Regions from separate parts of the Homo sapiens genome. Here all the other regions are linked to region 1. The links are contacts of gene promoters, found by promoter capture Hi-C in human tissues and cell types (Jung and others, 2019). All regions are on one chromosome and are shown on one strand. Each heading gives the region's core, a stretch centred on a gene start or on the middle of the fragment in contact. The rest is flanking DNA. Distances are from core to core; before and after follow the strand shown.

Region 1 (3,578 bases), core at 170-2,669:
AACTTCATGAGAATCCTCTGTAGTCTGGTGAGTGTAGTGTCCGACTCTGGAGCCCAGGCTGTTGCTTCCCGGTGTGGTGGTGAATCCTCCACAGTCTGGTGAGTGTACCTATAAATATATCTTTTCCTTCTCCCCTTCCCATTGCAATTTGCTTATTATATCATTTGCTTATTATATCCGCGTTGCCATTTAATTGGGATAAAGGTTGTTTACCCTTAAAAGTATGGTGTGTGTGTCTTTTCTTCTCCCCTTGCGCCTTTCTCGCACAGAACAATAGGCTCGTCCATTACTTTCAGTCGTTACATTTCTTGGAAGTTTCGTAATCCGGTGCTGATTCTAGTGTTTGGATGCCCATACTAAGTTTCTGCTTTTCAAGATGTCAATTTAACATCTCACCTCGCAATCACGTTGTTCTAATTTTAACAATTATTTATTGAACCCTTAAGTTCTAGACACTGCAGAATGCTTTACCTAAGATTTTCCAATTTCGTTCTCAAAACTTCCCCGTGCGTTGGTCGCTATTAACTCCATTTGACAGATCTGGAAACTGGGGCCCAGAGAGGCTAGTCCAGGCCACTCAGCTAGTCACTCTTGGAGCGGGGCCTCTGATCTAGCTAGTGGTGTAATAGAAATTGTAAATCATTTCAAAGAATATATATATTTCCCGTAACACCCTAGAGTTTTCTCCTAGCCCAAGAATTGTCCTTTTTGACCTCTGGTGATTGTTTCTCCTTGAGCCAGATAAGCTGCAAACCTGTTGGAAGCAGTGAAGGGCCATAGGGAAGAGCAGCCTTTGGGGAGACAGCCACCTGAAATTCTGCTCCACAACCTCCGCTCCAGGAGAGCGGGCCGAACGCACCGCGGTCGCAGCTTTCCTGAGGACACGGGTCCCCATGTCACTAGCGACACCTGCGCTCCGGGCCCAAAGCACAATCACAAAGTGCGGGACCTTTGGGCGGTGCTGGGCGGCCTGGCCCCGCAGCCACTGGGCCGGTTGGTCCCGCAGGACTCTGCTCCGTGGAGCTTTTGTCCTTGGGCCGGGGCCCTGCGACCCGCGCTACCCAGGTCGAGCCCCGCCAGGAGGCTCCCTCCTCCCGCCATTCTCCAGAGAGTAGGGGGTCGGGAAGGAGAGAACGGCGGGGCGGGGCCTGCCACCCACAGTCCCCAACCCAAGGACGTCACGGTCCCAGGTGCGAGTGCGAGCGGGCGGGAGTCCACCCCGCGCCTCCCTCCTCTGCTGAACTCCCCACCTCTGTAAAAGCGGCCCGGGCCGGCCCCCGGCTCCATTTTCTCGCGGCGGCCACACCTGGAGCCGCGCCTTTGGGTTGGGCTGGGCTGGGCCGCGCAACCGCCACGGGAAGACAGCCCTCGGGGCGGGGAGGGAGAGGGTGGCCGGGCCGGGGGGAGGCCGGGGCCAGGGAGGAGCCGAGTGCGCGCTCGGGGCAGGCGGCGGCGCGGAGCGGTGCGGCGGCGGGAGGCGGAGGCGAGGGTGCGATGGCGCGGAGCCCGGGACGCGCGTACGCCCTGCTGCTTCTCCTGGTAAGTGCCGCAAGCGGGACAGGGGAGCCACCGCCGGGGAGGGCGTCGGTAGGCGAGGTCTAGACCTCGCGACCAGACTTGCCCGCCGCCCTTGTGCGCGTTACCTGCCCGGCGCTCCTTCCTGCTGCCCGAGGGGGGAAAAGGGCCGGGCAGGCTGCGGCGAGATCCGACCTGGGGCTTCGGAAAATCCTCTTGGCTGGAGCCAGGAGAGTAAGTTGCGACCTATCGAAGTTGTGTTTTCCTTCCCGCGTCACCCAGGCCCCAGCGCCCTTTTCTGTGGTGTGTGGGTGTAGTGAGCCCTGGGGCGGGGAACACCATTGCTGGGGGTCGGAGGCTTTGTTGAGAGTCTCTGGGACGAGAAACGTGGAGGCAATAGGGAACAACCTCGCGCTTCTTCCACGTTCCTTAAATTTCCCTAGGATTCCCCAGCTCCTCTAGCCGCCGACACAAGCCAGTGAACTGGGGAAACCAGGAACATACTTGTATTCTTAGAGTGCAAAAAGTTGGCTAAAAATTTTTTAAAAAGGTGTAATTTACAAAGCTTAATTTTAAGTGGATCACCCACATATAGTTTTAACTTAAAGTTTATGAAGTTGGTGTTTCAAAAGTTTTCCAATATTAAAGATAATAAACATATGTAATAGTTTGAAGCCTTATTCATTTAAAAGGTTACAGAAAATGGAAGTGTAGCGCCCCCTCCCCCACGCCCCACCCCTCACTCCCGGAAACGACGTTCAGTCCCTGGATTTAGAGTTCTTTTGCTCAAATTGGATTTTAAACTGTTGGTTTTCTGTTTGTTTAAGGGGTTGCACGTATGTATCTCGCTTATAGGGGTTTACTAAAGGGGTTTTAATAAAGTGACAGTTATGCTGCAAATATAGGTGTGAGTTCACCTTCCAGAGAGTTCACAAATATGTGTTTACAGAGATTAGATGCAAAATCATACTCAGTTTTCTTACGTAATAATTAAAAATGCAAATACATTCACTATATTCAAAGTTCTAACTTCCAAAACATGAGCCCTTCTATCCTCGAGTTTTGGTGGGATGTGGAAGAAAATCGTGTGTGTGTGTGTGTGTGTGTGTGTGTGTCTCAAAACGGAAAAAGGCGTGACTGAATCCAGTCTAGAGATTTCCATGAACTCTCAGGTGGAAGAGCATGATAATTAGGGCGTCCAGGCCTAGCACACAGTTCATTTTCATGCTCTATTTATCCATTTCATTTTCCCCGTGTCCTTGAGGTAACTTTCAATGAAAATTCATTTTGTTGACAAAACTTTTCTAAGACGTGATCTGGGACGTCGTTTTTAGCCTCTGGGCTGGCAAAACAACTAATCCTGTCACCTTGATGTTTCCTTGTTTAAGGAGAATCCCAAGCTAATGTAACACCTAGCTTACTTTGAGAGTTACATATTCTTTCCATATATGAAAATAAATGACCTTTAATCTTCAAATAATGTAGCAATCAGGCCAATTTGTACACTCACAGAGTAGCAGGTAAGCAAATTAGGCATATCTTTCATTTTAGCAATTTGATACTTTTACCTTATTGGGCAGTAATAAACATCTCCTTTAGAAAGCGACTATAGCCAATGGAACAGGAGCAAAATTCTTGGACTGTTCTATGTATTTTCTATAAAACTTTCTGCAGTATAAATTTGAATATGTTTATTTTTGTCCAGAGAGTAGTGGGCAATGCAGCATTTTACCCCCAGTGTGTTTGCAGTTGCAGTTTTTTGGTAAAAAAAAAAAAAAAAAAAAAAATGGAAAGCAACTCATCTGACAGAAGTAGTTGCCAAGGAAACAGGTCCTTTATTGGAAGGAATATAAATTGTAGTCTGTTAGATCAGAGTTCAGTTGCAAATAACGGAATTTACTCTAGCTATTTAAAGCAAGAATAGGTTTATTTCGGGGCACTAAACTGACTACCTAAGTGTAGGAAGGATTGAGAAGACTGCCATTTGAGCTGTCAGTAATGACTTCAAAGCCACACAGCAGAGCCACACCGCTTAGGGAGCTGCTGCCTCTCCTGTGACCAGG
Region 2 (3,664 bases), core at 849-3,348, 340 kb before region 1:
GTCTAAGTATACAATGTGGAAACAGCATATTGTAATTAGGCTATGCATAAACACATACATATACATATGTACACATACATATGCATATACCTGTACATATACCTATACCTATATATGTATGTGTATGTGTGTATATATATACACACAGTCATATATTGCTTACATTCTAAGAAATGCAACGTTAGGTGATTTCATCCTTGTGCAGACATCATAGAGTATACTTACATACACTTAGAGGATATAGTCTACTACACACCTGGGTTATACCTACATGGTATACACCATGATTTATATATGTATGCCCCATGGTATGCACCATGGTACAGCCTAGGTGTATAGTATATAGTATAGCTTATTGTAAGCTACAAACCTGTACAGCATGTTCCTCTACTGAATACTGTAGGCAATTGTAAGTATTTGTGTAACTAAACATTTTTAGATATAGAAAAAGTACATTAAAATACAATATAAAAGATAAAAAATGGTTCACCTATACAGACGAGCTCCATTATAATCTATGGGACCACTCATATATGTAGTCCATCATTGACTGAGGCATTGTTTTGCAGAGCATGACTGTATATGTGCGTGTGTGTATATATATATAAATGTACATATATATATATAAATATATGAGACATTCTTATAGTTATATCCACACTTCCACTCCCACCCCCATCTTCTTTCCTTCTTGTCCTAGGATTCCATGTTGATGGTCCTCCCTCTGCAGGCAGAGCCACTGAAGGTTTCCATTCATTAAATACTATTCCCGTCTTCAGGTTAAATCACTGACTAAGTGGCTTAGTGACACCCTTTTAGTCAGTTTCAGAGTCAGAAATAAATAAACAGGAGATGAATTGTCCAAGAGATATTAGACAGTACAGGGATCAGAAGCAAAAGAAATGTGGGTAGAATCCTTTGAAACATTTTTACCACATTTTACCAAACTTGTACTAACTTAAGATGGTATCTGAGTTATCGTCTCCCTAAGCAGTTACAGGATGAGAAGGTGACCATCAACCCTGCATTGTATATTATTTACATGGAGAAAATGTTTGTCCTCATACCTGCCATTTCTAAAAATATATTTTGAAACTCAAGTATTTTGCTAAAATGAAAAAATAGGAAACTCACACCTCAGAAATGATGGACGGATGTGTGAAATAACCCCCCTCTCTTCCCTCACCTCCAAAGAAAAAATAGCACCTTACACAGTTACAAAGCTATTAAAAACCCAAGTGGAAGCCAAGTTGAGGATATTTTCAATGACAGTCACATTTTTGTTATTTTTCTTAAACTATTCTTTGCTTAAACTGCTTCGTGGGTAAAATTCAAAAAGTCCTGGATAATTTGCATGTTCACCCAGAATCCTTTCTCTTTTTTTGCAGCTTAGTAGAACTCAGCATGTTAAATAACATGAGTTTATGTAATCACTGGTAGCAGAAGTAAACCTCAGAAACTTCTGGGCCAAATGCCTAAAGAATGAATTCACTTCTCTACTCTTAGAAAATCACCACAGCAGGATGGAAGAGGGATTCCCTTGAAAACTTTTAACACTCTGGCAGTGGGTGCTTGAGAAGTAAGCTGAACACTTTCCATCCTGAATCCCAAGCCTCTCAACTCTTCCCTGAATCTTCCTCAGATCTGCTTTTGTTTTCCCCAATCTCTCTTCTCTGCCTCCCATCCTCACTCCTAGTCTCTTTCAAGCCCAAACTGCAGAGAGGAAGCAGGTAGTAACATGCTTGAATTCCCTAATCCTTTGGTTGTTACTCACCAGGAGAGAGAAAAGGAGCTGCTTACAGAAGATGCTCCCTGGGGCAGCAGAGGCCAGAGCCATCAGAAGCAGTCCCAATGGCCAGGGACGGTGGCCAGATAACAGGGCAGCCTGGGATGCACAGAGCGGCTAAGAAGACGCTGGCACTTGCACAGGGTATTCTGCTGCCACCTTGATGCAGCTGAGCTTGGTTTGGAAGACAGTCCGGAGGCAAGTGATAAACAGTAGGAGGAGCAACGGGAGAATTTCTTTCCCCCTATTCCCTGGCCAGTCTCCTTCCTTCCAGTTCAATTACGTCTAAATGCAAAGAGGCTTTCCTACAAGTGAGGAGGGTGGGGTACAAAACACCCCAAAACCCAGTCAGTAGCTCCTCCTCACAGCAGCTTTCAAAATTTCTCTTGCCACTTAACACATAGGCAGAAGGAGGAGGGAACACCCTTCATCCTCAGCCCTCCTCCCTTTCCCCCAGGTTGATGCTGTGAAGTCCTCCCCAGTTATTACCCACTCCCACAGCCTCCCCTCCTTCTTGGCCTTATTAACCTGTCTTGCCCTCGGGTACAAACATAAATTGTGCACAAACGCCATGCAAGGAAGTGATGCCTCCTCAACTGCCATTGGCAAATCAGAGGACCTAAGCGTGTGTAATCACACTCATCAGAAGTTATCTCCCATCTAAGCATTTAAGTGTCATCGGTCCTGTAGAACACTGTAGTTCTGCTAGAGAACTGGCATTCCAGTTTAAAGCAGCAACTTCATAAAGGCATGGTATCTACTTCCTGTTATTGACTATTCACTGTGGTTGGTTCTCTAGATGTCACAGGAAACTTATCAGAATGTAAAGACTTCATAAAAGAAAGAGAATAAAGAAATAGCTAGCATATAATCTTTCTTGTGGCTTTCCTTTTGTTGTACAAGATGCCACTGCTTTTTACCTTTATATTTTTTCAAGGACAACTACAATCTTTGAGAGCAAGTCTCTCTAAAATCACTCTATTCACCCTAATTACTTGTACATTACACATAGGATATCCTAGCTTAATAGTACAATCAGGCCATCAAGTGTAGATTTTTTTAAACCCTAATGATTCCTCTAACAAGAGCTTTAGCATCATTATTCCTGTCCCAAATTAGTGAGCTCAGTGATACCAATTGCACTCAATGGCAGTGATGGAAGTTAGGACAGAAGGATAAATATTTTCAAATGTTAAGGTAGAGCCCAACACCCATGCTGCTGAGAAGGGAGGAAAGAAAGGTTTTCTTCAGCTTATTTGACAATGGGAACAATTTCTCCTTGTATGTAGAGACAGAAATAAATGTAACTGCTTCATTAGAATTAGAAGCTAGGAAGATTTGGAAAATGAATGACCCAGGAGAAAAAAAACTAAAAGATATCTTGTAGTATTTTATTGCTAGTGGTATACCCACTAATAAACATATTTTGTGACTGCATTGGAATTTGATTTCTCAATCAGAAAATACAGTCATTTTAATGGAATATTTTTATATCTGGCGTTTTGGGAGAAAAGAATGGGAATATAGAAATAGAAAAATTACTTAGATGTATATGTGTACAGCCAAGTGTAATTCTGTGCATGTTTAAGCATCATCTAAGTATATATTTAGATAGATAGATAGACAGATAAATAGATAGTCATACAGCTTAAATAATTCAAAGACAAATTCTCCAACCCTAGAAAATAGAAACACATTTTTTTCAGCTAATGAAGTTATCATTACCTTTTTCTATAACATGATATTCTCCACTGAACTAGGAAGATATAGAAGAGCAAAATTAAATTGGTGTTACTGAAAAAATGGCATATATTGGTTGGATGAAGAGATTCCAGGCACTGCTCAATTCAAATGAATCCAGAATACTCTCCACAGTTC
Region 3 (4,037 bases), core at 1,284-3,783, 420 kb before region 1:
TAAATAGATATGCTATTTAAAAGTTTAAATAGCATATCTACTTAAACTTTTAAACAGATATGCTATAATTATGTTACATGTTCTGTTTCTACATTGAATTTTATGTCTATAATAACTAAGACACTAGAACTATACATAAATGCACTTAAAATATGTAAATTAAATATATTTATATATTAAATAAAAATACAGCTACATGCAAATGATCAGCTATAGGAAATAGCACTGATTCTTAGAATGTGTCTTGAAAGTTGCCAGGTGTGTTGACTCACGCCTGTAATCCCAGCACTTTGAGAGGCCGAGGTGGGGGGATCACTTGAGGCCAGGAGATAGAGACTGGCCTGGCCAACACAGTGAAATCCATCTCTACTAAAAGTAGAAAAAATTAGCTGGGCATTGTGGCGCACACCTGTAATCCCAGCTACTCGGGAGGCTGAGGCATAAGAATCACTGGAATCCAGAGGCAGAGTCTGCAGTGAGCGGAGATCACACTACTGCACTCCAGCCTGGGCTCTGTCTCAAAAAACAAAAAGTGTCTTGAAAGTTACTTTAAAGGGTATTATTTGAATTCAAGAAAGGACTTAAGACTTACAAAAGAGCAATGCTATGCCCAACAATATTGCAAGGATGGCCCACTTTCCAAGTTGTACTCCTCCACCGCCAATCCTTGGATCTACACGATGTGTGCAGTCATTTTCGGTAATGCAGTCACACAGTGTAACATCCAATGAAGTGACACTAGACATGCCAAGTCTATCTCTCACTGTTATAGGTACTACATATGAGCCAAATGGAGGATCATTCTGATAGGAAAGACGTGCTGCTGTATCTGAAAATATAAATAAATAAAACCAAACATTATACAATGTCACTGATTTCTTCTGAACATAAATAACTCATTATCAGATAGTTATATTTTCCTAGAAACAGATATTCCTGATGGGATGGCATAGCTGCTAGAAGATTCTAAATGTGAATGGCTAGAGTAGTTCTAATCTATACCCATTGCAAACATATTACATATAAAAGTTTGTCTATGCTGCCTCTTAAACAAAGTCTTTTGGCTCTTGTAATAATATATTTTATTTGTGTGTAAACAAATCCTTCCTATCACAACTAATAGACTTGTTAATAGATTAGTTTTTACCATATCTTGAAAATATTTAATTAAACCAGTGAGTGTACATTTTCTTTTACACATGCTTCATCGAAGTAATAGTCTGAAATTCTGGATGTTTTCCTTTACTTCATTTTCAAAAATTGTGCCAAATAAACATAAATACTTGTGACTTACTGTCAGAGACTAATTCTGACAACTTAAAACACCCCTGACAGTGACTACATTAGCAGGTCATGAGTCACACAGCTGCAGCTGCATCTCCTGGTCCTAAAGGACAAAGGGACCAACTGCACGTGTCTTAGTTTTGATGTAGTTTTCTTAGATAAAGGCTAGAAAATATCTAGAACCGAAAGCCCATACAGATTCTTTTATGGCTTTTATGGTGCATAAGCATGATGATAGGGTTTTTATGCTCATGTGTGAGACACACGTCTCTCAAACCTTATTACGACAACAGTACATTACCTGTATGACTTGAATTTAGAAGAAGAAAAAAACAATAAAAAACTAAAAAAAATTTAGAAGCCAATACAATCTTGGTTTTGGAGACTAGATATACTACTACTCTAAATGCAGATACCAGGTCCCATAGAATAATCCCTCTCCCACATAGCTGCCCAGTATGACATTCTCATTTTCTGCATAGTATTTGAAGCTCTAAATACAAATTTGAATGCTTGGGTAAAAACACATTGAATTAAGTCCATCTTAAGAGAAGCCATGGTTAACCTGTTAAGTCTATTTTGTAAAAAATTATAATGAGACTAGCAAAACCAAAACTTATAATTCCTAATGTGTCATGGTGTATTACATGCATTATCTCATTTACTCCCCCAAAAATCCCATTTTAGTAAATTGATGCTCAAAGACAATAAATAGCACGGTCAGATTTACTTAACTAACAAACAGGGAAGAACCAGCGTTTTTGACACTAAGCTTAACTGACTTCAAAGCCTCTTTAGGGTATATTCTTCTTAAAACTTGGGTGTTTCCCAAGCTTATAAGTGATTACTCAGACAAGTACATCTTTAAAATAACAAAGATGTTGACAAACATACAGCTGCCAAAGTTTTATTTTGCTAAGTAAGACTATTGGGAAAAAAAAATGTCCACTTTCTATCAACACTATTTAAAAATTAATATCATGACACCAAATAAGTAGAAAAGAAAAAAATCTAAGAATAAAGTTAATTCTTCCTCCCCACCCCAAAATAAACTGATAACCCCGATACACACACACGCACACACACACACACACACACACACACACACGCACACACAACAGAATATTGTTTAGAAAGCTGAAAATCTTGTTAGTTCACAGAGCAGGATCCAAGACATAGTAGTTTAGCTTATTTCTATAAGTCTTCATCTTTCTTTTCCCCATCCTGTTCTCCCTTTACGTTCCCTCATAACCTTTCTTTTCTAATTTGTCATAACAGGAAATTGAGGGATATTCACTGAAAGCATGGGGCTGAAAAACATTCAAGGGCATTTAAAAAGCAAGCCTCATTCAGTGGTTCTAGAGTCACGAAAGCTGGTAGACCATGACATCATGGTCCATAGGCAGTGTGAGCAGGAGATGGGGAACATGCTGAAGAGTTACGCGCCAACTAGGGAATGAGGCAGTGGTGATAATGTAGACAGGTTGCCTTCATTTTTGCCATACTTATCACTGTAGATCCTTCTGGGCTAAAGACAAAAGTACACATGGGGAACCGAGTTAGGGGAGAATCCCAAGGAGAATACAATAGACATGAAATAGTCAGAAGTCAATACAGTGGCAGAGAGGAGAGATAACGTGGTGGACACTGTGGTGTATATCTGATCCCTTTTCAAAGAAGGACTTGCATCCCAGCTGCTTGGGAGGCCATCAGCACCTTCCGGGATTGTGCCTTTTTGCCATGGGCAGCCCACATACACTGATGGAACAATAAGAGAGAATAGGGGATCGATTCAGGACCACTCTGAAGGCCCATTTAGCTCAGACTCCCCCTGGGGTTCACTGAGGTTGTCATTTGGCTTGTGCTGCAGCTTGACTTCTCTTTTTGCCCAATCCTACTTCTCCTCCTTTCAAAGCTACTGATCCCAAGCAAATTCCTTAGTCATCATTCTGCTTGAGATGCCCTGCCTCAGGGTCTGCTTTCTGGAGAGCCAACCAGTAACAAATGAGGACTCCCTTATGACCCAGGAAACTATAAAGAAATCTATGCCAGTGAGAGGTACACAAGTTAGGAAATGACTGCATTAGACCAAGTCTAAGAGAGAGAAAGAGAGAAAGAGAAAAAATGTGTGTGTGTGTGTGTGTGTGTGTGTGTGTGTGTGTGTGTGTGTGTTTGGAGTAGGAGGGAGAATTCACAACACACCTAAGGGAATCTCGGCATAGGATTAGAGACACACTAGAGAGACCTACTCCCAACACACAAAAACTGAGAAACTTTCATTGGTGTTTCCCACATGGTGAATTTTCTCCTATTTCATACAAAAAAAAAAAAGTATCGCAGACATCCTGATGTTGAAAAGGACAAAGCAATTTTCAAAAATATATACCATTAATTGCTTTCAGTCTCCACATTCTCTGTACTTCTGAAGTAGAACTCTCCAGACTAAAGTCAAAGGGTGGGCCATGGATAGGCTCATCAGGATCAACCGCAACAATCTCCGCAGATGACATGGTGGGTTTGCAGATGATCACTGTCTTTTTAGGTATGAATGGGCTGTTATCATTCACGTCTTGAAGTATAATGCCCAGTGTCCCCGTACATGTTCTCCCTCCTAGAAAAATGAAAATAAAAATAGTTTTTCTATGTTTTGAGTTTTCACCACAAAAGTATGCACTGAACACATTGAAAAATATTTATTAAGCACCTATAATGTAGAAGTTACAATGACAAGCAGTCACAAGCTATGTCCTCAG
Region 4 (3,649 bases), core at 490-2,989, 410 kb before region 1:
CATTTTGGCTTTAACTTGGAGACTGTTCAGAACTACAGTATGAGTCTCACCATTTGTTATTGTTCTGGGATATGGATATAATTTTAATGCCAAAGAGGTGCCTAATTTCATGATTCAATATGGCATTGTATGTTTAAATTTATCTCTTTAAATTTATGAAAGATAATTTTAGTTTCTTCATTATTGCTATACTGTTATTCATGAGTGTAACAATTTTTACTGTTATTTTCCCAAACAGCCTTGAAGACTTCTTTATTTTGCTTTGTTTGAAAGGTTCAGGTGCATGGATTTTAAATACAACTTTCTGGATCTTTCTGAACTTGGGATCCTGTAGGATTACCCAGGTACAGTTAACTGGGATATTATCCTATTTTCTACTAATGAGGACTTTAGGCATATCAATGGTTACATTTGGGTAAGTCTTTTCAAAGAATTTTTAATTTAAAAAGGGTGAATCAGAAATGAAACAAATGAATGGTGGTAAACTGTGGTGGAATACAGTTTAATTTTTTTGTTTTTATAATATGAATTTCAATACCAATTTTCTCATAACAGCTATCATAGAAAGGCCAGAACATCCTAGGTACTCAGAAGGCCAGGCCATGGCAATTCTAAACCTAAATACTTTATTCAAAGCTTGCCTGTCTTATTTGATTAATTTGGTCTTCTAATGAATAATTAATTCATCCAAAATAGACATAAAATAATTAAAACTGACTTAAGCAAAATGACCAAGTCCTGTTGGGAAATCAAACCAGCATTAGGTTAAATTCTTTCATATTAACTCACTTTCCAGCATAGGAAATTAACCAGATGATTAAAGGACTGAGTAAGCTTAGGTAAGCACTGTCACACCCCCTACCTGCTCCCCATAAACTAATGCTCTCCCATTGCCAGGGTACTGAGGTTTACTTAATGACTGAACTTCATTTACCTCCTATGATATCTCCATACTATAAAGAGGTTCACAGATCTTTTTGTGCCAACTAAGTAACTGTTCTTGGCCGGGCACGGTGGCTCAGTCCTGTAATCCCAGCACTTTGGGAGGCCGACATGGGCAGATCACCTGAGGTCAAGAGCTTGAGACCAGCCTGGCCAACATGGTGAAACCCCATCTCTACTAAAAATACAAAAAATTAGCTGGGTATCATGGTGCGTGCCTGTGATCCCAGCTACTCAGGAGGCTAAGGTGGGAGGATCACTTGAACCCCGGAGCCAGAGATTGCAGTGAGCCGAGATTACGCCACTGCACTTCAGCCTGGGTGGCAAAGTGAGATGCTGTCTCAAAAAAAAAAAAAAAAAAACTGTTCTTCAAAGTGGTACTGTTGTGGGGGAAAAAAAAATAGTAAAACCATAATACCAGGAACAATCTAATGGAATCCAATATTATTTATTCTATGAAAATATTTTTTGTTTCAAGTCAATTATGTGCTATTAGGGAGTAGCCAGAGCATTGGTGACAAACTCAGAAAGCAGAAAAGGTTACGTGAATTGCAAATGAGAGACAAAATGGCCAAGCATCATCATTGCTAATACAGTACACACATTTTAGACTTTACCTCAAAAGATTCATACTGCTCACGATCTACAGGACGAGTACAATACAAGTTTCCAGTGTCTCTCTCCACATAAAATAAATTCCGAGGTTCTTGGTCAACTCCAGGACCTCTTATGGAATAGTATATGGTATAGTTTTGGGCCGTGTCAGATTGAACCTAGAAAGTAGATATTATATACATGAGACAAATCTTTATTTCAGCAGAGCTTTCATCTATATATTTATGAAATCTCATTGCCATTTTATTAGTTTAAATAATTGCCCTTAATTTATTATTATATATAAATTAAAACAGCAATAGAATAAGAAAGTCCAATTGAGAAATTTCAAGAGCAAGGCATGAGTAAAATAATGTAGTGCATCTTAGTTCTCCAGAATAACTAAAGGAATATTTGACAGGCTAGATGGTGTCTATACATGGAAAAAACACTTAAGACTCTTCCTGTCTTAGAAAACAAAGTATTCTGAGCATGGAAAATTATTCTGTCGTCAATGTTTTAAAAAACTGAGTTTTTATTATATGTAACATAACATTTAAGAACCGAGTTTAAAGTGTACTGTCTGCAGGGCAAAAATGTGGACAATAATTTCCTTAATGAGTTTTTTGTTCTTTGCCAACATCTTCCTTATAGGAACTGAGTAAAAAAAAAAATATGAGTGAGAATAGAAATGGAATAATATTTTGGAATGTGTAATATTCTGATCCTTGATTCGAAAAGCAAATTTCCTCCAAGCTGTGTTCATCCTCTCAGTAACATCCTATCTTTATATCAGGATAACTGACACAACTGTTTTCTAACAATTTCTCAACTTTAATATGCTCTTCTCTCAGCTGTATTAAATTTGTTGGTGGGGTATAAAAAGGATTCTCCCTTGCTATGTCAAGAACTGAGGGAAAATAAACCAAAGTCATAGACTGAATGTAGTAGCCACCAGTAATGGAAGAAGGCAAGAAGGCTTGCTGGGGTTTCTACTGAAAGTTAAAACAAGACAGAGAAAAAGAGCCAGGTATGCTTGGCTCATGCCTGTAATCCCAGCATTTTGGGAGGTTGAGATGGGAGATCATTTCAGCCTAGGAGTTCAAAACCAGCCTAAGCAACATAGTGAGATCTCATCGCTACAAAAAAAAAGAAACAAAAAGAGACAGAGACAGAGAGAGAGAGAAAGAAATGTGGATCCAGTGTGATTTCAGATGTAGATTCAAGAACAAGAAATAGAAAGATAGAAGGGCCTATGTGTCTTCCTCCTTCGTGGCATTTGGTCTTTCATCCAATTTTCTCCTTTATTATGCAAGAGAGTTTTGGGTTTTCTAGCTATTCTTAGGCTTGGCGATACCCTTGCTGATGTGACAATTCATTAAGGAACCATGTGTCTGAGTGCCACAGTTTTATGCTTGGCCTTTGCAAGCTGAACAAAAGTGTATGCAAGTATAAAGAGATATATTTATACCCTTATATGGAAACATATTATACACATACTCATTCACTCACATATTTATACACAACTATTACAAATAACTTCATACTCAGTGTCATAATGGTAAGAGATGGAAACTATAGACTCCCACAGCAGAAAGAAAGAAAACGGTACCTGTTGAAGGAAAAGTGGAAAAGGACCCAAGGAGTTTTCTAGCATCGAACAAGGAATTGGAGCCCATCTTCTCTTGGCGCGCCTTAGAACTTTTTCTTTAGTATGTCTTTTCTTTAGGACCTCAATTCATAAGACAGGAAAAAATAATAAAGTCAATGACTACTTTATTCTCAAACATTAAACAATGACACATCTTTCTCCTCTCAGGAGGATTAGCTGGGTAGGGGTGAGACCATGGGAGTGCTTGAAAACCAAACTAATCATCAACACTGCAAAAAGATAATGAAGAAGTAACTGTCCTAACTGTTATCACAACAATCCTCTTGGGAAAATGATTTGGTGGAAATATGGAAGAAAGAGAGATGGAACTGGAAGCCTAGAAGCAAAACTGAAAAAAAAATTACTGTTGCCCCATTGCCATGCAAAAACATGGGAGAGAGATATGCAAAGAAAATAAGTGTGTATGTGCCCTTCTAAATTTAGCACAAGCAACTTCCACTC
Region 5 (3,765 bases), core at 1,257-3,756, 270 kb before region 1:
CTACAGAAACTATTCCAAAAGATAGAGAAAGAGGGAATCTTCCCTAAATAATTCTCTGAAGCCAGTATCTTCTTGTTACCAAAACCAGGAAAGGACATACCACCAACAAAAAAAACTACAGACCAATATCTCTGATGAACCAAGATGCAATAATCTTCAACAAAATACTAGCTAGCCAAATCCAACAGCATATCAAAAAGATAATACATCATGATCAAGTGGGTTTCATACCAGGGATGCAGGGATACTTTAACACACACGAAGTCAATAAATGTGAGACATCACATAAACTGAATTAAATACAAAATTCTTATGATTATCCCAAGAGACACAGTAAAAGCATTTGAGAAAATCCAGCATCCCTTTATGATTAAAACACTCAACAAAATCAGCATAGAAGGCACATACCTCAGGGTAATAAAAGCCATCTATGACAAACCTACAGCCAACATTAAACTGAATGGAGAAAAATTGAAAACATTCCCCCTGAGAAATGGAACAAGACAAGGATACCCAGTTTCACCACTTCTATTCAACACAGTACTGGAAGTCCTAGCCAGAGCAATCAGACAAGAGAAAGAAATAAAGTGCATCCAAATGAGTAAATATGACGTCAAACTGTCACTGTTCACCAACAATATGATGGTATACTTAGAAAGTCCCAAAGACGGCCAGGCATGGTGGCTCACACCTGTAATCCCAGCACTTTAGGAGGCCAAGGTGGGTGGATCACCTGAGGTCAGGAGCTTGAGACCAGTCTGGCTGACATGGTGAAACCTCGTTTCTACCAAAAATACAAAATTAACTAGGCATGGCGGCACATGCCTGTAATCCCAGCTGCTAGGGAGGCTGAGGCAGGAGAATCACTCGAACCCAGAAGACAGAGGTTGCAGTGAGCCAAAATAGTGCCATTGCACTCCAGCTTGGGCAATAAGAGAGAAACTCCATCTCCAAAAAAAAAAAAAAAAAAAAAAAAAAAAAAAACTAAAAAACAAAAAACAAACAAAAAAACCCCAAAGACTCATCCAAGAAGCTCCTAGATCTGATAAATATGCAGTAAAGTTTCAAGATACAAATCAATGTACACAAATCCGTAGCACTGCTATACACCAATATTGACCAAGCTGGGAGTCAAATCAAGAACTCAACCCCTTTTACAATAGCTGCGAAGAATAAAAAATACTTAGGAATATGCCTTACCAAGGAAGGGAAAGATCTCCACAAGGAAAACTAAAAAACACTGCTGAAAGAAATCAGATGACACAAACAAATGGAAACATATCCCATGCTCATGGATGGCTAGAATCAATATTGTGAAAATGACCATACTGCCAAATGCAATCTATAAATTCAATGCTATTTCCATCAAAATACTATCACCATTCTTCACAGGGATAGAAAAAACAATCCTACAATTCATATGGAGCCAAACAAGAACCCACATAGCCAAAGCAAGAACAAATCTGGAGGCATCACATTCCCCAAATTCAAATATAGTACAAGGCTATAGTTACCCAAACAGCATGGTACTGGTATAAAAATAGGCATGTAGACCAATGGAAGATAATAGAGAACCCAGAAATAAAGCCAAATACTTAAAGCCAACTGATCTTTGACAAAGCAAATGAAAACATAAAGTGGGAAAAGGACACCCTATTCAACAAATGGTGCGGGAATAACTAGCAAGCCACATGTAGAAGAATGAAACTGGATCCTCATCTCTCACCTTACACAAAAATCAACTCAAGATGGATTAAATACTTAAATCTAAGACCTGAAACCATAAAAATTCTAGAAGATAACATCAGAAAAACTCTTCTAGACATTGGCTTAGGCAAAGAGTTCATGGTCAAGAACCCAAAAGCAAATGCAAAAAAAGCAAAAATAAATAGATGAGACTTAATTAAACTAAAAATCTTCTACACAGCAAAAGAAATAATCAGCAGAGTAAACAGACAATCCATAGAGTGGGAGAAAATATTTGCAAACTATGCATCTAACAAAGGACTAATATCCAGAATCTACAAGGAACTCAAACAAATCAGCAAGAAAAAAAGGAACAATTCTATCAAAGAGTGGACTAAGGACATGAATAGAGGGTTCTCAAAAGAAGATATACAAATGGCCAACGAACATATGAAAAATGTTCAGCATCACTAATTACCAGAGAAATGCAAATTAAAACCACAATGCTATACCACCTTACTCCTGCAAGAATGGCCATCATTTAAAAATAAAAAAAAATAGATTTTAGCATGGATGTGGTGAAAAGGAAACACTTTTACACTGCTGGTAGAAGCAGCAGTGTACAATTGTATACAAGTCCCAGTGCCTAGGCCACAGACCGGTACTGGTCTGTGGCCTGTTAAGAACTCGACCACACAGCAGGAGATAAGCAGCGGGCAAACAAGTGAAGCTTCATTTGTATTTACAGCCTTTCCCGTCACTCACATTACCACCTGAACTTGGCCTCCTGTCAGATCAGCAGCAACACTGGATTCTCATAGCAGCTCGAACCCTACTGTGAACTGTACATGTGAGGAATCTAGGTTGTGCGCTCCTTATGAGACTCTACTGCCTGATGATCTTTCACTGTCTCCCATCACCCCCAGATGGGACCGTCTAGTTGCAGGAAAACAAGCTCGGGGCTCCTACTGATTCTACATTATGGTAAGTTGTATAATTCTTTCATTATATATTAATATTACAATGTAACAATTAAAGAAATAAAGTGCACAATAAATGTAATGCACTTGAACCATCGCCAAACCATCCCCACCACCCACCACCCCATCCATGGAAAAACCATCTTCCACAAAACTGCTCCCTGGTGCCAAAAAGTTTGCGGACCCCTGATTTAAATCATAAATCATCCAGGTTGTTTCTTACCACAGCATAATGTCACCCATTCTGATGTGTACACATTCTCTAAAAGATATTACAAACACATTATTTAAACCTGTTTGCCAGCCGGCCTGGTGGCTCACGCCTGTAATCTCAGCACTTTGGGCGGCCGAGGTAGGTGGATCACTTGAGATCAGGAGTTCGAGACCAGCCTGGCCAATATGGTGAAACCCTGTCTCTATCAAAATACAAAAGTTAGTTGGGCGTGGTGGTGGGTGCCTGTAATCGCAGCTACTTGGGAGGCTGAGGCATGAGAAGTGCTTGAACCTGGAAGGCAAAGGTTGCGGTGAGCCAAGACAGTGCCACTGCACTCCAGCCTGGGTGATAGAGAGAGACTCAGTCTCAAAAAACAAAAACAAAAACAAAAAGCTTCTTTGCCTGTATTTGCTTATTCCTATAGAGTATTTATGTATACAAGTTTATTCCTTTTTAATGCTCAGTAGTATTCACTTATATATGATTGAATACAATTGAATACTACTGAGCATCAAAAAGGAATAAACTTGTATATAATTGAATATGTGTGTATGTGTGTGTATACAGCATATTTTGCTTAGTCACTTACTAGTTGATGGATAATTAAATTGCTTCCAGTTTTTTGAATATTTCAAAAAATGCATTTAGAGACATTTTCATATTTTTCTTTTTTTTTTTTTTTTCTTTTTGAGACAAGGTATTGCTCTGTTGCTCAGGTTGGAGTGCAGTGGTTTGATCTCAGCTCAATGCAACCTCGGTCTCCAGGCTCAAGCAATTCCCCCATCTCAGCATCCCTAGTAGCTGAGTAGCTGGGACTACAGGTGCATGCCACCACACTGGGCCAATTTTAGTATGTTTTGTAGAGACAGAGTTTGTCATGTTGCC

Evidence for each region. Contacts are between HindIII fragments. The study calls those that stand out against the background at their distance.
Region 2: the fragment with the promoter of DSC1 here is called in contact with the fragment with the promoter of DSG2 in region 1 in 1 of the 25 tissues and cell types used here (H1 embryonic stem cells).
Region 3: a contact is called between a fragment that was not itself captured here and the fragment with the promoter of DSG2 in region 1, in 1 of the 25 tissues and cell types used here (H1 embryonic stem cells).
Region 4: a contact is called between a fragment that was not itself captured here and the fragment with the promoter of DSG2 in region 1, in 1 of the 25 tissues and cell types used here (H1 embryonic stem cells).
Region 5: a fragment that was not itself captured here is called in contact with the fragment with the promoter of DSG2 in region 1 in 2 of the 25 tissues and cell types used here (H1 embryonic stem cells and mesendoderm cells).

The regions. Positions count from the first base shown.
Region 1 is chr18:31,496,758-31,500,335 of GRCh38, forward strand. It overlaps DSG2 (desmoglein 2), which reads left to right and starts at 1,420. Exons shown (of 15, transcript NM_001943.5): 1 at 1,420-1,539. The coding sequence starts at 1,495. RefSeq lists an enhancer at 810-949 and a silencer at 1,150-1,619. The HindIII fragment of the contact is 8,335 bases long and covers 1-3,319 here.
Region 2 is chr18:31,160,758-31,164,421 of GRCh38, forward strand. It overlaps DSC1 (desmocollin 1), which reads right to left and starts at 2,099. Exons shown (of 16, transcript NM_024421.2): 1 at 1,775-2,099. The coding sequence starts at 1,837. DSCAS (DSC1/DSC2 antisense RNA) reads left to right here. Exons shown (of 4, transcript NR_110785.1): 4 at 1,778-2,032. The HindIII fragment of the contact is 13,832 bases long and covers 1-3,664 here.
Region 3 is chr18:31,071,013-31,075,049 of GRCh38, forward strand. It overlaps DSC2 (desmocollin 2), which reads right to left. Exons shown (of 16, transcript NM_024422.6): 12 at 3,671-3,895; 13 at 593-829. It also overlaps the pseudogene LOC124904377. Among named protein-coding and RNA genes, the nearest start is that of DSCAS, 29 kb to the right of the region's middle. The HindIII fragment of the contact is 3,989 bases long and covers 540-4,037 here.
Region 4 is chr18:31,087,880-31,091,528 of GRCh38, forward strand. It overlaps DSC2 (desmocollin 2), which reads right to left. Exons shown (of 16, transcript NM_024422.6): 4 at 3,149-3,268; 5 at 1,560-1,715. Among named protein-coding and RNA genes, the nearest start is that of DSCAS, 12 kb to the right of the region's middle. The HindIII fragment of the contact is 6,527 bases long and covers 1-3,649 here.
Region 5 is chr18:31,221,210-31,224,974 of GRCh38, forward strand. No RefSeq gene overlaps it. Among named protein-coding and RNA genes, the nearest start is that of DSC1, 60 kb to the left of the region's middle. The HindIII fragment of the contact is 4,613 bases long and covers 201-3,765 here.